Regions from separate parts of the Homo sapiens genome. Here region 1 is linked to region 2. Evidence: promoter capture Hi-C in human tissues and cell types (Jung and others, 2019). All regions are on one chromosome and are shown on one strand. Each heading gives the region's core, a stretch centred on a gene start or on the middle of the fragment in contact. The rest is flanking DNA. Distances are from core to core; before and after follow the strand shown.

What was found. Contacts are between HindIII fragments. The study calls those that stand out against the background at their distance.
Region 1: a contact is called between a fragment that was not itself captured here and the fragment with the promoter of LEO1 in region 2, in 3 of the 25 tissues and cell types used here (dorsolateral prefrontal cortex, hippocampus and mesendoderm cells).

The regions. Positions count from the first base shown.
Region 1 is chr15:51,865,764-51,871,376 of GRCh38, forward strand. TMOD3 (tropomodulin 3) reads left to right here. Exons shown (of 10, transcript NM_014547.5): 3 at 3,454-3,610. Among named protein-coding and RNA genes, the nearest start is that of TMOD3, 39 kb to the left of the region's middle. The HindIII fragment of the contact is 4,580 bases long and covers 1-3,642 here.
Region 2 is chr15:51,968,121-51,973,433 of GRCh38, forward strand. It overlaps LEO1 (LEO1 component of Paf1/RNA polymerase II complex), which reads right to left and starts at 3,658. Exons shown (of 12, transcript NM_138792.4): 1 at 3,568-3,658. The coding sequence starts at 3,625. It also overlaps a transcript of MAPK6 not described here. RefSeq lists enhancers at 2,775-3,351, 3,175-3,704, 3,352-3,927. The HindIII fragment of the contact is 14,890 bases long and covers 1-5,313 here.

The sequences.
Region 1 (5,613 bases), core at 103-2,602, 100 kb before region 2:
CACTGTAACTTACAAAGTCTCAGGAAGTAGGTCGAAGGTGTGTGTGGTACCTTATTATATTTTGGAGGACTGTTTTACTGTCCTTCTGCTGTATTCAGTGTACGTGTTTGCTAACTCACTGAGTTTTTGCCAAAAAAAAAATATATATATATGTCTCCAGAAGACAGCCAGCCTAGGAAGAGCTTTTTTTCCCCCCCAAGGCTAGGAATATATTTTACAGCAAAATTGCACTGCAAGAGAGAAACGTGTCATTTTTAGTGACAATCATATTAAAGAAAATTTTTATATGAAAAGTAATTATGATCTATTAGCTTACTTGATTAGAACATATTTCTAATGAAGCTTGGTTCATGGGTTTATAGTCTCTAAAACCAGCTAGCTTCATTTAGATTGTGGTTAGACTGTTTTTGGCCGGGTATAGTGGCTCACACCTGTAATCCTAGCATTTTGGGAGGCCAAGGAGGGAGATTTGCTTAAGAGCAGGAGTTCCAGACCATCCTGGGCAACATAGCAAGACCTTGCCTCGACAAAAAATTTTAAAAATTAGCCGGGGGCATGGTGGTGCACACCTGTAGTTCCAGTTACTCCAGAGGCCTAGGCAGGAAGATTGCTTAAGCCCAGGAGTTCAAGGTTGCAGCAAGCTGTGATCGCACCACTGTACTCCAGCCTGAGCAGTAGAGCAAGACCCTGTCTCCCCCCTACCCAAAAAAAAGAAAGAAAAAAAAGGCTTTCTAAGGAGCCAGACCAAAAAGAAAGAAAGAAAAAAAAGGCTTTCTAGGGAGCCAGGATTTCAGCTATCATATTTAAGACTGTGTGTGTCACATGGGCTTGAGCAGGCAGGTAGAGTAGTGCAAATTCCATTACCACCACCATGAAATAGCAATATATACATCTATGCATTAATGATGGAGAAGGAAAGTAACTTTTTATTAATTTGCCTTAATGAGAATCTTTCTTTAAAAGCATTCTAACACCTTTATTCAGTAAATATTTGGGGGCAACTTGTAGACCCCAGGTACTATGCTAGGCTTAGGAATACAAGAATGAGCAAAACAAATGTGGTCTTTGCCCTCATGACGCAGGCTGGTAGGAATAGGAGCAGTTTGACATTAACCAAATAATCATACCATATTAAAAGAATGGTAAGTGCTACACACTGTAAGAGCTTGTGATGAGAGGTTAAGAAAAGCTTCCCTGGGGGAATGGAGCTACAATCTGAAAAATGAGTTGCAAAAAGGGATAGGCAGAGCATTCCAGGGAAGGGAGACCACACACATAGAGGCCTGGTGGTAGAAGGAAGTATATGGCAAGTACAAGAGAGAAAAAAAAGTCCAGTGTGACTGGAATGGAGAGGGTGTGTGAGATGAGGCTAGGGTGACAGACTGAGGGGCTGGTGGTGAAGGATAAAAAATATCAGGCAGCTGATCCAGGTGGGAAGCTAATGTAACAGTCTCAGCAAGCTTAGATCATAGTTTCGACCAAAGTAATAATGTTGGAGATGGGAAAAAGATGAATGAGTTCTTCAGGAAGTAAAAATGAGTAGGACTTGCAGGTCAATTGGAAATGGATTCTTCATGTGTAATTCCTCTCATGATTTCTAAGTCTAAAGGTAGAAATCTTATGTTTCTTTTTTATGTTTCCATAAACAATTTTGTATTACAGAAACATACTTGGTACAAAGTTAGGAATGTTTCGTCTTTACAGTTCAGCTTTCTGTGTAGTAGGTACCATTACATAAAGGGTAACACAGAAGTGAATTTTATGAAAATTATTATGTGTCTCAACAAATGACCACAGTTGAAGTGCTGTATTTCCTAGTTACAAATTGAATATTTTCTATTACTATTGCCCATATAAGATTACCCTTTATAATGAAAAATTGTCTTATACCACCCATGAAATTCAGCGTCACTGCCAATATTGGGAGGTTTTGCAAAAGAGAGCTGGCCCTTTTGTGTGATTTCTCTGGCTGCCTCCCATTTTCAAAGCAAAGATATACCCAGAAATATGAGACAAGGCAGTATCACCTCTTTGGCTTTTGACAAGTGAAAGGACGGTACTCACTTTGTCTAGTCAGCCCTTGTGTTTACTGGGCTTAGTGAAAATTAAGGGACTACAGGAGACAACTTTAATCCATCACCTTCCACTGCACCTCCCTCATCTCTAAGTCAGTCCATGCGCTCAAAAAGGCTGTACCCGTGTGGAAACCCAGGAACATAGCTCTTGCTGTGAGTATGTCAGGGGTCCCTTGGGGCATGTGAAACAATGATAGTGATTGTAGCAAGTACATCCTAGTGGTCATGTATATATGTACGCATACACACACAAGTGGAACATCTCACGTTGTGTTTAAACTGAAGTAAACATTAATCTGATATCCTACTGTATGGTATATATGTTGTAATCATGAAGAAGTCTGTACAATGAAATGGAAGTCATGAAGGAATATAATGTACAGAGTCATTTAAAACTCTTTTGTAATAGAATTATTCTCTGTACATATATATACACTGAGCAGTTATTAAGCATTAATAAAACTTTTTAAAAAAAACGTTTTAAGTTCAGGGATACCTGTGCAGGTTTCATTACGTAGGTAAACTTGTGTCATGGGGGTTTGTTGTACAGATTATTTCATCACTAATACCTGTTAGTTATTTTTCCTGATCCTCTACCTCCTCCCACCCTCCACCCTCCTCTATGCTCCAATATGTGTGCTTTATATGTCCTTGTGTTCTCATCACTTAGCTCTATATGTGTGCTCTATATGTCCGTGTGTTCTCATCATTGACTCCCACTTATGTAAGTAAGAAGATGTGGTATGTGGTTAATAAAACTTTTTTATTAGTATCCCAGAACACTTAAAAACTAAAGATTGTTTTCTGCTAGTAGAATCCTCTCTGAAGAAAATGTTCTATTAGAAAACGTATGCTGGGCGCGGTGGCTCACACCTGTAATCCCAACACTTTGGGCAGCCGAGGAGGGCAGATCATCTGAAGTCAGGAATTCTAGACTAGTCTGGCCAACATGGCAAAACCCCATCTCTACCCAAAACGCAAAAATTAGCTGGGCGTGGTGGCAGGCGCCTGTAATCCCAGCTACTTGGGAGTCTGAGGCATGATAATCACTTGAACCCAGGAGGCAGAGGTTGCAGTGAGCTGAGATCATGCCACTGCACTCCAGCTTTGGGGATAGAAGGAGACTGTCTCCAAAAAGAAAAGAAACTGTACTAATGTATGTGCCTATTTTAATAATAATGTAAGTGAATTCTACCTAATAAAAAAGAAGTTTAATGTTTGGAGCAATTGTACATTGCTGTCCTAAAATCCTGCAATGAAGTGTTTAGTGCCTGTATCACATTCCAGTCTGTAATTCTTTTTTATATGGGTAATCTTCGGAAGCATATAGCATTAGCATTCTTATTGGTCATATTGGCTGATTCATTCTCTCTGGCAGAATGCCCTTCTGCCTGCAGGGTTCCGGCAGAAGAACCAGACATCAAAGTCCACCACAGGGCCATTTGATAGAGAGCATCTCCTTTCATATCTGGAGAAAGAAGCATTGGAGCATAAAGACAGGGAAGACTATGTGCCCTACACTGGAGAAAAAAAAGGTAAGCCCCAGAATTTTAAAGTCATTATGTGGTAACACTTGATTTTTCTTTTTATAGGTGGGTGTGGAGAAAATCATATTTTTAGAGGTACATCATTGGTAGCCTTAAATATATGATACTGTTGACTTAGACATTTATTGGTTTAGATACTTTATTTACATTTTTCATCAACTTGGTCAATAAGTTTCTTCTTAATGATGTTAGTGAGGTTTTATTACACAATGATTTTGAATAACATTCTTTAATTCTCTACTATAACAGATCTAAAAGTATATTGAAGGAAACTTAAAATTCAGTGGTAGATTACAGAGTACAAATGATGTTAAGGCATCTATTCTAACTGCATTCTTTAAAGTGGAATGCCATAAAACAATTCATGCCATATTTTCAAAGACCCTTTTAAAAAGCTATTCTATACCCATCATTATTAATTCATGGTTATGATTGCTAATGCTTCATAATCAGTAGTTTTAGGAAATTTTTCTAGTCCAAGTCTCCCCCATTTAAGTGTTTGAGCTTATGTATTCTCAGTGGAGCCTGAGTACGGCTGTGGTTGTTTTTTTGTTTGTTTGTTTGTTTGTTTGAGATGGAGTCTTGCTCTGTTGCCCAGGCCGGAGTGCAATGGTGCACCCTCGCCTCACTGCAACCTCCGCCTCCCGGGTTTAAGCGATTCTCCTGTCTCAGCCTCCTTAGTAGCTGGGATTACAGGTGCACACCAGCACGTCTGGCTAATTTTTGTATTTTTAGTAGAGATGGGGTTTCACAGTGTTGGCCAGGCTGGTCTCGAACTCCTGACCTCAAGTGATCCACCCACCTAGGCCTCCTAAAGTGCTGGGATTACAGGCATGAGCCACTGCACCCAGCCACAGCTGTGTTTTTAAAAGTTCTATATATAATAATACTTAAATGAAACAGGATAAGTTTTTCAGCTTTCCAAACAGGTCAGAATACAGGTTGGCCTAAAAAGCCAAATTCTACGTTCACTCTTACTTGGAATACTGTGTATAGAATACTGGGGAATGGTGGCAGCAGTAGCAGAGCTGAAGATCAGCTCTTGCAGGCACCATTTTTATGTCTGAATTCATATTAGTCCAGGCAGGAAGAATGGGACTTGGGCTTTTTATTTGAGAAAGAGGCCCTTCTCAATCATTTTGGCCAGAACTGTGTCACATGGCTACCCCTTAGCTGCAAGGGAAGCAAGAAAGTTCATTTTAGCACTCCAGCTTCTATAGTAGAGGAAGGCTTGTGAATGGCTATTGAGTAGGTAAGCCGTAAGCTCTGCACCTGACTTTTCTAAAATTATCCATCACCCCAGCCCCTGTGCTTTTTCTTTAGAGTCCTCTTCCTCTTCATCTCTTGTTAAGGATCACTATCTTTGTTATTTAAGTTAGTCAGGGTTCTCCAGAGAGACAGAACCAACAGGATGTGAGGGGAGAGAAAAGTTTATTTTAAGGAGGCTTTTTAAATTCAAAATCTAGCAGCCTGGAGACCCAGGGAAGATTTACTATTCTTGTCCAAAGGCAGTCTAGTGGCAGAATTTCTTCCTACTTTGGGGAGATAAATCTTTGTTCTTTTAAGGCCTTCAACTGATTAAATGAGGCCCACCCACATTATGGAGGTTAATTGGCTTTACTTAGAGTCTGCTGATTTAAATTTTAATCTCATCCAAAAAAAAAGCAAAAAACAAAAAACCTTCATGAAAACGTTTAGAACAATGTTTGAGAAAATAGCTGGGCACCACAGCCCAGCCAAATTGACACATAAAACTAACCATCACGCTACTGTTACAGGTGGGAATGTCATGTCCCTCAGGTGTTTGGGGCCAGAAAAAGAGTTCAAAACCAATGCAGAGTTTTGAAGTGTGGAGAATCATAAAGACAGGCAGAGGCATCTCTTCCTTTTTATTTGTCAAAGAAAACTACTGGTTATATTTTCTCTGTGCAGCCATACGTATGTCAGTGTTTATGGCTTTAATCCTGCTTAAATAGAAGAACATAATTTTA
Region 2 (5,313 bases), core at 2,408-4,907:
TGCAGTGAGCCAAGATCATAGCACTGCACTCCAGCCTGGGCAACAGACCAAGACTCCATCTCAAATAAATAAATAAATACATAATATTGCTAAGTTAAGTTCAAAACTGGTTAATGTCTTAGAGGACAATAAAATCTTTTGGCTGGGTGCGGTGGCTCATGCCTGTAATCTCAGCACTCTAGGAGCCCAAGGTGGGAAGATCACCTGAGGTCAGGAGTTCCAGACCAGCCTGACCAACATGGTGAAACCCTGTCTACTAAAAATACAAAAATTAGCTGGGCATGGGGGCACACGCCTGTAATCCCAGCTACTGGGAATAATGAGGCATAAGAATCCCTTAAACCTAGGAAGCGGAGGTTGCAGTGAGCCGAGATCGTGCCACTGCATGAAAGGGGAGACTCTGTCTCCAAAAAAAAAAAGTAAGTGAAGGCCAGGCGCAGTGGCTCACGCCTGTAATCCCAGCACTTTGGGAGGCTGAGGTGGGTGGATCACGAGGTCAGGAGTTTGAGAACAGCCTGGCCAATATGGTGAAACCCCATCTCTACTAAAAATACAAAAATTAGCCAGGCGTGGTGGTGCATGCCTGTAGTCCCAGCTACTTGGGAGGCTGAAGCAGAATAATCACTTGAACCCAGAAGGCGGAGGTTGCTGTAAGCCGAGATTGCGCCACTGCACTCCAGCCTGGGCGACAGAGCAAGACTCCGTCTCAAAAAAAAAAAGGAAAGTGAAAAAACAACCTACAGAATGGAAGAAAATATTTGCAAACCATGTATCTGATAAGTGTCTTTATCCAAAATATACAAAGAACATTTATAACTCAACAATAAAACCAATTTCTTTGTGTTTTTTGTTCGTTTGTTTTCTTGGAGACAGAGTCTCGCTCTATCCTTCAGGCTGGAGTACAGTGGTGCAATCTTGGCTCACTGCAACCTCTGCCTCCCTCAAGCGATTCTCCTACCTCAGCCTCCCAAGTTTATGGGCGCACGCCACCACACCTGGCTAATTTTTTTGTATTTTTAGTAGAGATAGGGTTTCACCATGTTGGCCAGGCTGGTCTCGAACTCCTGACCTCAGGTGATCCACCCACCTCAGCCCCCTAAAGTGCTGGGATTACAGGCGTGAGCCACTGTGCCTGGCCTAAAACCAATTTTTTTAAAACAGAGGACTTGAATAGACATTTCTCCAAACAAAGTTACACAAATGGCCAATAAATACATGAAAAGATGTTCAACGGCTGGGCGCAGTGGCTCACACCTGTAATCCCAGCACTGTGAGAGGCCGAGGCAGGCAGATCACCTGAGGTCAGGAGTTTGAGACCAGCCTGGCCAAAATGGCAAAACCTCATGTCTACTAAAAATACAAAAATTAGCAGGGTGTGGTGGCAGGCGCCTGTAATCCCAGCTATTCGGGAGGATAAGGGAGGAGAATCACTTGAACCCAGGAGGCAAAGGCAGGAGAATCGCTTGAACCTAGCACTTTGAGAGGCCGAGGCAGGTGGATCACCTGAGGTCAGGAGTTTGGAACCAGCCTGGCCAACATGACAAAACCTCATCTCTACTTAAAATACAAAAATTAGTAGGGTATGGTGGCAGGTGCCTGTAATCACAGCTACTCGGGAGGTTAAGGCAGGAGAATTGCTTGAACCCGGAGGCGGAGGTTGCAGTGAGCCAAGATTGTACCACTGCACTGCAGCCTGGGAGACAGACTGAGACTCCGTTAAAAAAAAAAAAAAAAAAAAAAAAGATGTTCAGCATCATTAGCCTTTGGGAAAGTGTAAACTGAAACCACAATGAGACACCACTTGATAACATCAAGGATGGCTACTTTAGAAACAAATAAAAACTTAAAATAACTGTTGGCAAAGATGTGGGGAAAGGGAACCCTGGTGCATTGCTGGTGGTAATGTAAAATGGCTCAACCACTATGGAAAACAGTTTGGCTGCTCCTCAAAATATTAAAGAATTACCATATGACTCTGCACTCCTACATAATACCCTCCTCCCAAAATTAAAAACAGGCACCCAAACATGTACATGAATTTATTTATTTTTTTGGAGACAGAGTCTCACTTTATCACCCAGGTTGAAGTGAAGTGATGCAATCTCAGCTCACTGCCAACCTCTGTCTCCTGGGTTCAAGTGATTCTCATGCCTCAGCCTTCTGAGTACCTGGGACTACAGGCACGCACGACCACACCTGGCTAACAGTTTGTATTTTTAGTAGAGACAGGGTTTCACCATGTTGCCCAGGCTGGTCTTCAACTCCTGAGCTCAGGCAAATCCGCCTGCCGGAACCAGGAATGTTTACAGTAGCACTATTCAAACAACCCAATGTCCATCAACAGATAAATGGATTAACAAATTTAGGGTGTGCACATTCAATGGAATATTATTAAATCATTAAAAATGAATAAAGTACTGATATGTGCTACAATGCCTTGAAGACATTATGCTAAGTAAAAGAAACCAGACACAAAAGACCACAATGCATGATTCAATTTATATGAAATTCCCAGAACAGATAAGTACAGAAACAATAGCAGACAGGGGTTGGAGGAAGGAGCATATGAGGAGTAAGTGCTTTATGAACAGTGTTTTATTTGGGGGTGATGAAAATAACAACTAGATATATGTTGTCTACAAGAGACTCACTTTACTTGGAGCCTAGAGGGTTGCAAGAATTCTGAACTTGGTCTTGGGTTCTCACTTCAAATAGCTCCTATTCATATTTCAAGTGCCCGTAGTCTCAACTACTTGGAGGCTGAGGCAGAAGGATGGCTTGAGCCCAGAAGTTCAAGGCCAACCTGAGCAACACAGTGAGACCCTGTCTCTAAAAAAGTAAACTTTAAAAAAACACCCACAATCCTGTGCCAGAAATAACTTCCAAGCAGCATGCACATACACTAATTCATTCATTTCATCAACAAATCCTTCATTCCTCCTCTCTGTACACAGACCCCATGCACTCCCCAATCTAACATCACAGACTCCGGAAATTCTGGAGTTTCTGCACAAGCTCTTAGAGAACACATTCTCTCCTATGTGAAACATCTATCTGTAACCCCATCCCATTATCCGTCCCAGACTCGTCATCCAGACATCTCAAGCTCCCTATCACACCATGCTCTGGTTTCATTCAAGACGGCATTCTGAGGCCCTCTGTAAATTCGCCCACCCCATCCCATATTCCTGCATTCATTTCCATTCATTCAAAAACAGCCCTTACTCTACGCTGGCCTGTGCAAGGCAAGGCGGAACAGGACTCCAACGTTCCTACCCGCGCTGCGCAGGCTCGCCTGCACTTCCACCCATGCCCCGCGCCCCTTTCGCTCCACAAGCTCCCAGGAACCGTCTGCTCCACCGACACCCAGAGCCTCGAGGCGCAGACTGTCTGACTCTCCATCCTGCCCGCCGGAGGAGGATGGCACCTCCGGGAGTGCAGGGGGCGCTGAGGCAGGAGTGGAGGAAACGCCACCTCTTGCCCGCGGCGCTGGAGCCTCCACGGTTGTCCGGCTCCCACAGCGGAAGGCCTGCCACGCACCCATCCTCCGAAGACCAGCGAACCCACCTTTACGCTCAGCTTCGCTGTCGGCGTCGCTCCCGAAGAGATCCTCCATATCCGCCATTATCGCTCACGTCCGCTGCTGCCTCGGTTAGGGGCAGCTCCCGGCCTCTCTTTACGGCACGGAACCACTGAAACACGACAGTGTCGCAAAGATTCGCCGAAGACACTCCTTTCCTTACGTGACCTAGTTTTCGCTCGCCCAGTGAACCTGTTCTCGCCTGGGTATGCATGGTATATAAGCCCGGCCATTTCGTCAATATCTGTTATTTGCCAGGATTCTTACCAGGGGGCGGGGGGGTCCTGCGTTCGGTTGCGGGTGTGGATGGGGTGGGCGGTGACTGGCGCTCTCTGGGGAAGGGCCTCTGGCTGGATTAAACCTATCGCGAGTCAGGATTGAAGCCCTTTGTTTCTTACTGAGCAGCTGTTCTCCAGTTATTTCATCCCAAACCCCTTTACCCTCTTAAAAATTGTTGAGACGGAGTCTCGCTCAGTCGCCCAGGCTGGAGTGCAGTGGCGCGATCTCGGCTCACAGCAACCTCCACTGTCCGGGTTCAAGCAATTCTAATTCCTCAGCCTCCCGAGTAGCTGGGACGACAGGCGCCCGCCACCACACCCGGCTAATTTTTTGTATTTTAGTAGACACGGGGTTTCACCGTGTTGCCCAGGCTGGTCGCAAACTCAGGAGCTCAGGCAATCCGCCCGCCTCGGCCTCCCAAAGTGCTGGGATTACAGGTACGGGTATTGATATTTACTGTATTCTTACTAATACGGTAATAAATTTTTAAGTTACTAATTCATTTAAAAATAATATACATGTTAACAAACAGCTTTTTTAAGCTTTAAATGACCATTTTTTTGGCCGGGCGCGGTCGCTCACGCCTGTAATCCCAGCACTTTGGGAGGCCGAGGCGGGTGGATCACGAGGTCAGGAGATCGAGACCATCCTGGCTAACACGGTGAAACCCCGTCTCTACTAAAATAAAAAAAATTAGCCGGGCGTGGTTGTGGGCGCCTGTCGTCCCAGCTACTAGGGAGGATGAGGCAGGAGAATGGCGTGAACCCAGGAGGCGGAGCTTGCAGTGAGCCGAGATCGCGCCACTGCACTCCAGCCTGGGCACGAGACTCCATCTCAAAAAAATAATAATAATAAAATAAAATAATTAAAAATAAAAACATTAGCCAGGCATGATGGCATGCATTTGTAGCCCTAGCTACTCAGGAAACTGAGAATGGAGGATCACTTGAGCCCAGGAGTTGGAGGCTGCAGTGAGCTATGATCACGCCACTTCACTCTAGCCTGAGTGACAGAGTAAGGCTCTGTTTCTTAGAAGAAAAAGTGAGAAAAGAGTACATCCTGTGTTACATTACCTAATTAGGCCATTATGAGAGTTTTGGTCTTGGACAAGCAACAATGAATATTTAGTTTGGAGATTATATGATATATATTTTTGTAGTAAACTTCAGTGCTTAACAGGGTCCAAATGGGTGGGACTGGGTATGTAATCATCAATCCTAGAGCTTTTGTGTATGAAGCGGATGTTGCAAGAGAAGATACATAGATAACCTGAAAACTATCTGGAATACTGGAAAAACAAGTATTCCATTTGACAGTGATTCAGTTTCATTTTCATTTAGAGTACTGTCCCTGAAAAGTACTTTGATTAAATTTATTTTCTTTTGATACAGTGTCTCTGTTGCCTAGGCTGGAGCGCAGTGGCGCCATCATAGCTCACTGCAGCCTCAAACTCC